Regions from separate parts of the Homo sapiens genome. Here region 2 is linked to region 1. The links are contacts of gene promoters, found by promoter capture Hi-C in human tissues and cell types (Jung and others, 2019). All regions are on one chromosome and are shown on one strand. The core of a region is centred on a gene start or on the middle of the fragment in contact, and the rest is flanking DNA. Distances in the headings are between cores, read along the strand shown. Region 1 holds the start of SLC35D2 (solute carrier family 35 member D2). Region 2 overlaps CDC14B (cell division cycle 14B).

What was found. Contacts are between HindIII fragments. The study calls those that stand out against the background at their distance.
Region 2: a contact is called between a fragment that was not itself captured here and the fragment with the promoter of SLC35D2 in region 1, in 1 of the 25 tissues and cell types used here (spleen).

Annotation. Positions count from the first base shown.
Region 1 is chr9:96,380,773-96,387,150 of GRCh38, reverse strand. SLC35D2 (solute carrier family 35 member D2) reads left to right here and starts at 3,440. Exons shown (of 12, transcript NM_007001.3): 1 at 3,440-3,674. The coding sequence starts at 3,517. SLC35D2-HSD17B3 (SLC35D2-HSD17B3 readthrough) reads left to right here and starts at 3,440. Exons shown (of 26, transcript NR_182427.1): 1 at 3,440-3,674. It overlaps ZNF367 (zinc finger protein 367), which reads left to right. Exons shown (of 5, transcript NM_153695.4): 5 at 1-1,210. RefSeq lists silencers at 3,452-3,781, 3,792-3,841. The HindIII fragment of the contact is 24,287 bases long and covers 1-6,378 here.
Region 2 is chr9:96,578,722-96,585,099 of GRCh38, reverse strand. The region is part of intron 1 of CDC14B (cell division cycle 14B); the gene reads left to right. Among named protein-coding and RNA genes, the nearest start is that of CDC14B, 38 kb to the left of the region's middle. The HindIII fragment of the contact is 4,829 bases long and covers 989-5,817 here.

The DNA.
Region 1 (6,378 bases), core at 2,191-4,690:
AATAAGTAGGCTTCTGAAATAGTTTTAACTGCAAGTGTGTTAACTTGTGTGGTGGTTTGAAGCCATTTTTCCAAATAAAGTTATTAAACACCACTTTATGTACTGAAGCATGAACAGAAAAATCAAGAGCTGAGCAGACCACCTCCTTTATGTAGGCAAAACTTCCATCATTTTGGCTTTTGTTCTAAACAGAACTAAATGACATGCATAGCATGGTAACTTACAGATCGCTTAATTGGAGTAAAACTCAGAGTAATAGAGGGAAATATGGGCTCTTCAGTGCCTTTTTAGCTTTTTTGAGTTGAAGACGTTCCTACAGATGTAGTTTAAACATTACAAAGTAGGCTTCTTTATCCAAAAATCCCAATGTGTCATAGTACACAGATAGTTTAAAATATGTAGCCACGGGGAAGGGGAGGCATGTAAATGTCTTGAAGAGGAGAAAAAGTATGAAAGAAGATACGATAGTTACGAATAATGTGTATGATGAGGACATACTTTAAAAATGTAATTCCTCTGTACAGTAAATTACAAATCTTTAGGGATTTTTTTGTAATAAGAGAATTTATATTTGTAATGGTCTAAGAATTTTTTTGTAATGTGGTATATAGAATTTTAATTTGGAGCACTTATAAGCTGGTAAGAGAGACTATAGCATCTGAATTATCTTGGTTTATGTTTCAGCATTTCCTCTAGAATTTTTGCTCTCAAATATGTGATTTAATGAACTAAAAACAACACTCATCAGTCTTGGGAAATTTGAACTTTGATCAACTTAACTAAAGAAGGAAGGGTAGTAAGAATTTTTCAAATACAAATATTTGCCAATTCACAGATGATAACATTTAAGGCCTTCAAAAGTAAGGGTTTTTCCTTGTTTCTCCAGTCAGCTTTTGTCAACTCTAATAGTTTTTTCATAAACATTTTTTATTTGTATAATTGCAACAGTTTAAGAAATTATCACAACTATTTAGAAACATTTAAAATGTTCTTTTTGATATAAGCTATATACTTGGAAAAATACATTGGTATCTAAAATTTGAGGTGTGTTAAGACTGCTTTTTGTTTTAAAAAATGGTTTACATTCAAATTTTTGAAGTGTTTTATGCTTCATATGGCTAAGTTGTAGTTTGGCAGAGTTAACAGCATAAGAATAAACATGCTGTAATTTTAAAAGATGCTTTGAATAAAAATTTATTTTAATTTAAAATTTAAAGTACACGGTCATTCTTAAAGCCTTTATCATTTGTTTTCCTATCGAAAATATAATAACCATGATATAAAAAAATTTAAAAGATAGAAACATCACCTACAGCCTTATGTTCAGCCATCAGTATTATTTCAGTACATGTTTGCGTAGTTGTAAGTACAGTGTGGATTGCTTTTTCTTACTTTAATTATGGCTTTTAAGGTTATAGATATTTAACTTCCTCATCGGGTTCATTACTACAGTGTTAAAAATATACTGCTGTGGATAAGTATTGAACTATTGCCACCCCATTTCCAGGCCTTAAATTAGGGTAATAAGGAAAAGGGATTTCATTTCACTTACATTTAGGATGGGTTGTCTCTGGGGTCAGCTCCTCAAGAATCCATTTAAAGCCTGTGTACTTTTCTAAGAGTCTAGCAAATTGGTTTTCTTTTTTCATCAGTTATTTTTGGTAGATCTTTAGTTGTGTATTTGCAGTGGCAAGGGTCAGCCTGTCCTACCCTTGTGCAGAAGAATATCACAAGCAACTCCTTAGTGTGAGTTGCTGTTTAAACAGGGTAAGGATGGGATTTTGACAGCGAGGTAAGGTCCTGGAAGTATGTGTATACAATCAAACTAAATGCAATTATGATGAAGGTCATCATTAAAAATAACTTTAAAATATTCTTTTTGCAGTCAAAACATTTGGAGACTCACAAGAAAATTGAATGTTCTGAGGAAATTAACCAAAATGACCGATTTCCTGTTTAACTTGAATATGGATTCATTTTCTCTTTTAAAACGGACTTAACATGTCTTTTCTTTCTTGTTTTGGGTAACTTGGGCACTTCTGGTCTTTTTAATGCTAGCTAATTTTCACGAGTTCTGCTTTAGTTCTTATCAGGGCTGAAAATGTTTCCCAGTTTTCATTCTCCTGGTTGTTTAGTGCCTAAGGGTAGAAAAACAATTCTCTGGGCATCTATATAGTTAGGCCCCAACTTTTATTTAACTTGAAATCTTAAGCTTTTCTAAGAAGCTAAAAGTTCATATATATATATATATATAATATACATTATATATTAAATATATAATATATATATTTTTGAGACGGAGGCTTGCTCTGTCGCCCAGGCTGGAGTGCAGTGGCGCGATCTCGCCTCACTGCAAGCTCTGCCTCCCGGGTTCACGCCATTCTCCTGCCTCAGCCTCCTGAGTAGCTGGGACTACAGGCGCCCGCCACCACGCCCGGCTAATTTTTTTTGTATCTTTAGTAGAGACGGGGTTTCACCGTGTTAGCCAGGATGGTCTCGATCTCCTGACCTCGTGATCTGCCCGCCTCGGTCTCCCAAAGTGCTGGGATTACATGTGTGAGCCACCGCGCCTGGCCAAAAGTTCATATTTTTTAAAGACTGACAAGGGTAGGCGGTTCTGGGAAGCTGTCCTTCAACTGACCTGACCCGAAGGCAAACGGCCCTCCGCGAGGAATGCACCTACCACAAAGCACCCAGAGGACACCCAAGTCCCAAGGCTTCACCCACCTTACTCCTAGCCACTCCACTCCTAGATATTTATTTAAGAGAAATGAAGACACAGGTCCCACAAACGCCCACGAATTTTCATGGAAGCATTTTTCCTAATGGTCCTAAACTGGAAACAACCAATGGATACACAATTTGTGATACTATTCAACGATTAAACAAACCACATGGTCGAGTCCAAAGCATAGAGTGAAAACCCCTGAGACCACATGCTCATTCATAAATTCTAGAAAGCACCCTGTTTATTTGAAATTCCGGAAAAGGCAAACCTAACCTACAGCAATAGTCATCGATGAGATGCGGGCGTTAACTTCAAAGGGGCAGCAAGGGGAATTTTTGGGGCGATGGAAATGTTGTTTTGAGTAGTTACTCCTGTGGATGCCTTTGTCGAAGCTCATCTCAAACTATGGACTGGCAAGATGTGTACACTTCATTGTATGTAAATTATACACTAAACAAAAAAGTTGTAGGGAAAAAAAAAAAAAAGCAAAACAAGCCCTGAGACTTACTGAAGCGTTTCTTTCCAGGAAAGCCTGGAGGAAGGCAGCGCTTTTCAACTCCCCAGCGCATTGCCGGCCCTGGAGACCGAAGGAGGTGCCTGGAACCAGGGTGAAGTCCAGCGCGCAGGGTCCTCCCGCGCCGGCCTCGGGCGCTCGCAGGGGGCGGGTCGGGACCTGGGATTGCGCCGGGCTCTTCCTGTTCCTGCCGCGCCCTCTTCCCCGGCCCGGCCGGGCGGGACCAGTGCGCAGCCGGGGCTGGCGGGCGGCGGGGTCCGCGGGGCCGCAGGAGATGACGGCCGGCGGCCAGGCCGAGGCCGAGGGCGCTGGCGGGGAGCCCGGCGCGGCGCGGCTGCCCTCGCGGGTGGCCCGGCTGCTGTCGGCGCTCTTCTACGGGACCTGCTCCTTCCTCATCGTGCTTGTCAACAAGGCGCTGCTGACCACCTACGGGTGAGGCGGGGCCCGGGGCCGGGGGGTCTGCGGGAGTGCGGGGCTGCCCCTGTCCTCCGTGCGCTTCAGCGGCGCCCGGGACAGGGCGGGTGGGGACAGGGACCCTCGAGTCTCAGCTGGGCACATTGGTCGAGTTTCCCAGGCGCCCTCCAGAACTCGCTCAGCTTTCTACACTCAGGCCACAACCTGAGAAAGTCGTTCTCTTCCTGAGCGCGCCTGCCCTGCTGCGAGGCGCCCTGTCCTAGGTGGGCTGGTAGAGCTCAGACAGATTCTTTCATACACCCAGCGAGCTGAAAACAGGGATTCAAATGCCTGCTTCAAAGGACGCAATTCCTTACACAGATCTCCATGTTCAACGGTCAGGTACTCCTGAGCCAGTAAGTCTGTATTGATTGACTGTTCATTCTCAGATGACCAGCGTGTTCATGGAAAACTCGGGAAAACAATTGGAAGTTCATATGGAGTACTTTTTTGGATTAGTGTGAAGTAAACGCAAATTTGTGCTGCCTTGAACCTATTTGTAAGGACTAGAAAATCCTGCTTAATTCTGCTACCATTGTAGCGGCACTGAGAAAATTGTGGATTTAGACCCAGCTCCACCGGTTAACACCTGTCTTTTTGGACCAGTCTCACAGTCAGCAATTTTTTTCAGATGCAAAAAACCTGAATGATTACAATCGTGTTAATTACCCTCCAGGGCTCTGCACGAGCTGTTATATGTGAAGGCTCTTTGTAAACTCTACTATGTTACAAGAATATGCCATCAACATTTTAGAGCCCAAAGAGACCTAGAGTGTCTTAGTTAGAGAGTATCTTAGAGTATCAGCTTTCTTTTTTTATATATACATACAGATTCAGCTTATGTGGGTCTCACTTTTCTCGAATATAAAATACGAAAGCTGAGGCTGGCTGAGGTGGTTTGCACCTGTAATCACAGCATTTGGGAGGCCAAGGCAGGCATATATATATATATATATATAGTGTGTGTGTGTGTGTGTGTGTGTGTGTGTATAATATTTTTTTGAGACAAGGTTTCACTCTGTTGCCTAGGCTGGAGTGTAGTGACACAATCATGACTCACTGCAGCCTCGACCATCTGGGTTCAAGCAATCCTTCTGCTGCAGCCTCCAGAGAAGCTGGGACCATAGGTGTGCACCACTGCACCGGCAATTTTTTTGATTTTTTGTAGAGGTGGGGTCTCAGTGTGTTTCCAAGGCTGGTCTAGGCCTGCTTTGGCCTCCCAAAGTGCTGTGATTACAGGTGCAAACTATCTCATCCAGCCTCACCTTTCTTATTTTATATTCGAGAAAACTGAGGCCCACATAAGCTCGATTGGTTGTACCTCCAACAGATATTTATTAAGCACCTACTAAATACTGAGCCCATTGCAAGCACCAGGGAAGCCTCTGTGAACAGCACAAGGTCCCTGCTCTGGAGATTCTGCTTCAGTGGTGGAGACAGAAAATAAACAGGTAGGTTCATGAATAAACGAGACACTTTCAGATCTGATGTGAGAGTGCCTGGGCTGGAGTAGCTGTCACAGAGCATTCCAGGTAGAAGTGAGCAGCAAGTGTACAATGTGCTGAAGTGGGCATGAGCTTGGCTGCTGGAGGAACAGAGAGAAGATCACTGTGCCTGGGCGGGGAGGTAGGCAGGGAAGGCAGGAGTCAGCTCTTTCTCTCATTTTTGATAGCTTTCACTAAGCACTTGTGATGTACCAGCACTGTTCGAGGAGAACAGTGTTTTCCCACCGTTCTTGGGAAAGAGAAGTGAAAAGAGCAGATCAGAATCCTTAACTTCACGGAGCTGCATCCTTGTGGACCAATAAATGAGCCAGTAACATTTACATTATGTCAGATGTGACCAAGGTGCTGGGGAAAAAATAAAACAGGAAAGGGAGTGAGGGAGAGAGGGAGGGGAGAGTATGCAGTGTGAGCGTGATCAGTGGAGCCTCAGAAGGAGGTGGCATTGGAGCCAAGACCAGAGTGAGGTGGGGACATAAGCCACACTGGGGGACGGGGGAAGAGCATTCCAGGCCTGGAGGAGTGAAGAGTTTGAATGGGAATGGTAGCAGATGGGGTCTGAGAGTAATGGATTGCTGGCCTGTGTGGGGCCTTGGGAGGCCACCGCCAGGGCTCTGGCATCAGCTCTGAATGAGATGGGAGCCACGCAAGGTGTCAGGCAGGGGAATTACATGATCTAAATCACTGTGGCTGCTGTGTTGAGAGCCGACATCTGGGGACCAGGGTGGAAGGATGAGACTGGATAAATAGTTGTAGTTTCATGCTAAATGCAATTAGAAGTCCCTTGGAAGGTTTTGACATGGGAGTGACCTGACACAATTTGTGTGATTAAAAAGATCTCTCTGGCTGGCAGGCGGGTGGAGAACTGACAGTACTGGCATCAGGGAGAGGGGCTGGAAGCCACTGCAGGGCTGCAGGTAAAGACGGCGTGGACTGGGCAGGGCATAGCAGCGGAGGTAAAAGGAAGGGATGGATTTGGGATATTTTTTGGTGATCCTGTGGCCGTCAGTATTCTTGGCAAGGTCTCTCCAGTGTGTTGCAGCCTGCTGCCTGGTGTCCATGGAAAACACAGCCCTGCCTCAAGGAAATGAACATGGACATACTGTACCTAAACCTGGAGCATTTGACATGGAAGCTAATGAAGGAAAAAGAAAACTTAAACACTTAGGATAAAAAAAAAA
Region 2 (6,378 bases), core at 2,154-4,653, 200 kb before region 1:
TTAATATGTTGAGTGGCCTAGAATTGTGAATGTCCTAAATAATGTTAGGAAGGATTTGAAATATCATTGGAGATAAAATATTATGAATAATTTTGCTTCCGATAAGGCAATTATGTATTCAAAATACTCATTGAAGTAAGTCTTGGCCAGGCGTGGTGGCTTATGCTTGTAATCCCAGCACTTTGGGAGGCCGAGGCAGGTGGATCACCTGAGGTCAGGAGTTCGAGACCAGCCTGACCAACACGGTGAAACCCTGCCTCTACTAAAAAGACAAAAAAATTGGCCAGGCATTGTGGAACGCACCTGTAATCCCAGCTACTTGGGAGGCTGAGGCAGGAGAATTGCTTGAACCTGGGAGGCAGAGGTTGCAGTGAGCCAAGATTGTGCCACTGCACTACAGCCTGGGCGACAAAGCGGGACTCCGTCACAAAAAATAAATAAATAAAATAAAGTCTGTTTTATTAATTGCCAAGAAATTTGAAATGATATAGACACTTACTTATCTTTTTTCCCCTTTGAAATGCTTATTTAGATGGAAAAATTAGAATGTAACCTATCAGAGTTCTTGGCTTATCCTAGAAGAATATCTTATCTGCTGAAAGTGAATGCTTTCTTCCTCTGTGCCTTCTCTTCTCTGGGTCAGGAGTCTGACTTTCTTGACTATGATCCAAATGTTTTAGGGCATATTAGTGATACCATATGTAATCTAATTCTTTGTACCATACTGCTGGAAACGGACCTGAGCCAATCTGGTCATCCACACCCCTTAGGACTTTTTGATAGGTTACAGTCACAACCAAAAAGACTTGAGGTAGATGGAGTTTAGCTGCTTCCCCACAACACTGCTACCAAGTTATAATAAAAGCTAGCCTCAGATGAAAAAGTCTGCCACTCAACAGTCGTTCATTCAATGCATATTTATTAGCAAGCAGGCACAAAACAGATGATTCGTCCTGTCCTGAAAGCTTAGCTCTTGCATTTTGTGGGTACTCTGACCCCTTTTATGAAAAGCTTACTTGAAGCACAGGTATAGGGTTTGTCATGCTTATAGTTGGTTCCAGTCAATCAGAAATCCTCACAACCGCCAGGCGCGGTGGCTCATGCCTGTAATCCCAACACTTTGGGAGGCCGAGGCAGGCGGATCACGAGGTCAGGAGATCGAGACCATCCTGGCTAACATGCTGAAACCCCGTCTCTACTAAAAATACAAAAAATTAGCTGGGCATGGTGGTAGACGCCTGTAGTCCCAGCTACTTGGAAGGCTGAGGCAGGAGAATGGTGTGAACCCGGGAGGCGGAGCTTGCAGGGAGCCTAGATCGCGCCACTGCACTCCAGCCTGGGCGACAGAGCGAGACTCCGTCTCAAAAAAAAATAAAAATAAAAAATAAGAAATCCTCACAACCAGGCCAGGGCCCTTGGCTCACGCTTGTAGTCCCAGCACTTTGGGAGGCTGAGGCGGGCAGATCACTTGAGGTCGGGATTTCCAGACCAGCCTGACCAATATGTGAAACCCGGTTTCTACTAAAAATGCAAAAACTAGCCAGGCGTGGTGGTGCGCACCTGTAGTCCCAGCTACTCTTGAGACTGAGGCAGGAGAATCGCTTGAACCCGGAAGGTGGAGGTTGCAGTAAGCCGAGATCACACCATTGCACTCCAGCCTGGGCTACAGAGTGAGACTTAGTCTCAATAATAATAATAATAATAATAATAATAATAATAATAATAATAAATAAATACAACCAGTAGCCGGAGGGTGGCGCCGGTTTACGCATCCAGACTGACATTTCAAACACTATCCCTGAAGACAGTCTCGTTAGATTCCTCTTATCTGTTCATGCAAATGTGGGGTGTATCCATAAAATATTTTAGACAAATCTGCATATGTGGATAGTCACTAATTTCACCAATGAGAGCCCATTTCTTACAGGGATTATTCTGATGAACATGCCACTAATTTTACCAATAAAAATATTTTTGATGCCCAGTATTTGAATTATAAATTTTCCAGAGGTATGCGTAACAGAAGAGCTACTGTATTATTTCTGGAATGTGACTCCCTGCTTTAATAATGGCCATCCGTCTCTGGAGTGTAAGTTTCTGATTAGAGCAACTGCCACCAGATCTGCCCGATCGGCTCCCTGTTGTAGCTTAAACCAATCATATATGTTTTATCCTTGTCCCTGCAGTTAAAGTAAATAAACAACCCAGGCCCATTATATAAAATTAGTAAGAGGAATTCATCTGGATAGTCCATTCTCTATCCTGATCAATTTAATTAGTAAATCTGGTAAAAGTCTCAGATGAGAGTTTAATTATACAGCATCCAGTGACACAGGAAACTAAGGTCTTGAACTCTGATTTTGCTTTTGTGTTGTTTGAAATGTTTGTTCCTCAGTGCCATAAAGAAATAGCACTTGAACATACATTTAATTTTTTTAGTAAGGCCTTTTTTACTTCCTGCAGAAAGGGTACACTCGCCAGCAGTTTTGTCACGAAAGTACACCAAACAAAGGAGACAGGGTCATTTATAACTTGACGCATCCACCCTACTGCTGTGTCCAGTTTCCATTGACTGGAACCGTACCTTACATTCTGTATTTGTCCCAGTTGACTAGCAACTTAGAACTTTTTAAAAGAGGCAGAGGTAGAGTGGAACAAAGGAAGGAGGAAGTAACTTGTGAAATGCTGAGAAAGGTAAAAACACTTTAAAGAGGAACAGGCTATGACCTAATGCTTGCTTGGACCAGTATAAGCATGCCAGGGCAAATATTTAGGCTAAATTGTGGGAGCTAAGAACATAAAGTATATTGATTTTTTTATTATGGTTAGCAGATATTTAAGAATGTTAGCATAGGTCTTTGGATAAATTTTGCTTCTAAGAAAAGTTACTATTTATTCCTAATTGGACGGGGAGGAAAGTCTTTGAAGAGGAACCTCTACTTTACTTTTTACAGTGTCACATTGACAGCATGTGGGACGGGGGCTGGAGAGGTTTTTTCCAGTGACTTAAGTTTCAGGGCCCTTTGTCGTAAAACAGGAGGAGAAGCAGAGAGCTAGCTGATGGAGCCGTCCCTTGGTTCTCACCATGAAGCGCACTGGGAGTCAGCTTTGTGTCTCCAGCCCAGGGCTGCAGGGGATAAACTAGGATAAGGAAGGATGATGATGAAAGGCAACTAGCTGGAGTTGTTATCGCATCTTTCCATTTCAGAGCACTAGCTACCAATGCTGTATTTAACCTTATATCTGTGCTGGGACGGTGGATCTTGTCCTGGCAGGAAATAGCTGTTGTTTGACCACACTGAACAGGGATGCAGAGGACACCAAGGTTAAGGGGGACATAACTGTGAAAGATGAAAGGCTTCCTCCTCATCCTTCCCTCACTCCCCAGAGGAATATATTTTCACTTATGGACTAACACCAACACGTTCAAACCCACCTAATACTCAAAAAGTAAATACTTCCTTCCCTGCCCCCAAATCCTTGATAACCACTGTAACTCTTTACAGTGGCCATCTCCTTGGTAACCACTGTAACTCTTTGGGAGGGGCATTTTTCTGTTGTCTTTTTTTAATTTTTTAATTTTTAAATTAATTTTTTAAATTTAATTAATTTAATTAATTAATTTAATTTTTTTAGAGACGAGGTCTCTATCGCCCAGGCTGGAGTGCAGTACTGCAATCATAACACACTGTGGCCTCAACCTCCTGGGCTCAAGTGATCCTCCTGCCTCAGCCTCCCAAGTAGCTGGGACTATAGGCATGAGCCGCTGTGTCTGGCCCTCTGTTTATCTTTATTTTAGAAGATTATTTATTTATTTTCTTCTTTGTGCTTCATTGGATACAAATCTGTTAATTTTGTTTTTCTTTTTTGAGACAGAGTCTCCCTCTTATTGCCCAGGCTGGAGTGCAGTGGTGCAATCGCAGCTCACCTCAACCTCCACCTCCTGGGTTCAAGCGATTCTCCTGCCTCAGCCTCCTGAGTAGCTGGGATTACAGGCGCGCGCCACCATGCCTGGCTAATTTTTGTATTTTTAGTAGAGACAGGGTTTCACTATGTTGGTCAGGCTGGTCTTGAACTCCAGACCTTGTGATCCACCCGCCTCTGCCTCCCGAAGTGCTGGGATGACAGGCATGAGCCACCGCACCGAGCTTAAATCTGTTTATTTTTATACATATAAATTTACCTTAGAAATAAGGCTTAGTTTTGATTTATTCTGTTTACATATATCATGCAATTAGGTTTTTTAAATACTTAGTTGATCTTTGTATGACTGTGGAAAGATTACATATTGATCTACTTTATTAACTTTAAGTGATAGTATGATTGCCATGGTTTAATTATTCCCATATTAATGACAATTATTTCCATTTAGTCTTACTGCAGACACTGCTATAGTGAACACCTGTCCATTGCTTCTTAGTACTCCTATGCCAGTATTTCTCTCGGGTCGATTTCAATAGAGGGATTGGCTGGGTTACCGGTTACATGCATAACAGATACTGCCAGATTGCCCTCCAGAACGCCCCCATCAATTTACAGTCCACCTTCTTTGTATAAAAGTAGCAATCTAGCCGGGCGCAGTGGCTCGCGCCTGTAATCCCAGCACTTTCAGAGGCCGAGGTGGGCAGATCACCTGAGGTGGGGAATTCAAGACAAGCCTGATTAACATGGAGAAACCCCATCTCTACTAAAAACACAAAATTAGCCGGGCGTGGTGGTGCATGCTTGTAATCCCAGCTACTCGGGAGGCTGAGGCAGGAGAATCGCTTGAACCTGGGAGGCGGAGGTTGCGGTGAGCTGAGATTGGGCCATTGCACTCCAACCTGGGCAAAAAAAAGAGCGAAACTCCGTCTCAAAAAAAAAAAAAAGTGGCACTCTCCCCACAACCTTTCCCTAGGATTGCTATCAGTATTTTAATTTTTTTCCAACTGGATGGCATGAAATGAAATTTCATTATTTTGTAATTTTCATTTTTCTAATTACTAATTAGGCCAAATATGTCACATGGATTTTGGTCATCTGTATTTATTTTTCTGGTTTGCCTTTTTAATATATGATTATTTTCATCGGACTGTGTGTAATTTTAAGATTTTCATAGAAATAGTTTTTTATTTATATATAGTCCTTGTTATATAAGCTACAAATAGTTTCTCCTAGTCAATTGCTTTAAAAAAAAAACTTTTAGAGTTACAGAAAAGATAAAAATAGTAGAGCATTCCTCTGTCCGCCTCACAGTTTCACTTTTCTCTAGTGTTGTCATCTGTCTTCGTCATCTAGGGCTGCTGTGACAGAATACGCTATGCATAGTCTGCGTGGTGTAGACAACAGAAATGTATTTTGTTACAATTCTGGAGCTTAGGAAGGCCAAGAACAAGGAGCCAGCGGGGTTGGCTTCTGCTGAGGCCTCTGTCCTTGGCTTGCAGACTGCCGCCTTCTCCCTGTACCTCCACGTGACCTTTCCTGTGTGCATTCAGTGGGAGAGAGTGCTCTGGTATCTCCCTTTTTTTTTTTTTTTGAGACAGAGTCTTGCTCTGTCACCCAGGCTGGAGTGCATTGCGTGATTTTGGCTCACTGCAAGCTCCGCCTCCCGGGTTCAGGCCGTTCTCCTGCCTCAGCCTCCTGAGTAGCTGGGATTACAGGCACTCGCCATCATGCAGGCTAATTTTTTGTATTTTTGGTAGAGACGGGGTTTCACTGTGTTAGCCAGGATGGTCTTAATCTCTTGACCTTGTGATCTACCCGCCTTGGCTTCCCAAAGTGCTGGGATTACAGGCGTGAGCCACTGCGCCTGGCCTGTATCTCTCATCTTATAAGGATATCAGTCCCACCTGTATGACCTCATTTAACCTTGATTTCTTCCTTAAAGGCCCTATTCCCTGTAGTCACGTTGGGGGTCAAGGCTTCAACATAAGAATTTTAGGGACACAATTCAGTCCATAACATCATCTTACATTACTGTGGCACTTTAAGAAACCAACACTGGGCTGGGTGCGGTGGCTCATGCCTGTAATCCCAGCACTTTGGGAGGCCAAGGCGGGAGGATCACCTGAAGTCAAGAGTTCGAGACCAGCCTGGCCAACATGGTGAAACCCTGTCTCTACTAAAAATAGAAAAATTAGCCGGGCTTGGTGGCACATGCCTGTAATCCCAGCTACTTGGGAGGCTGAGGCAGGAGAATCACTGGAACCAGGAGGCAGAGGTTGCAGTGAGCCGAGATCGCGGCATTGCACTCCAGCCTGGGCAACAGAGTGAGACTCCGTCTCAAAGAAAAGAAAAAGAAACCAATACTGATGTGTTATTATTAATTATACTGCAGACTTTATTGGGATTTCACCAGCTTTCCCATTAACCTTTCTCTATTCTGAAATTCAATCCACA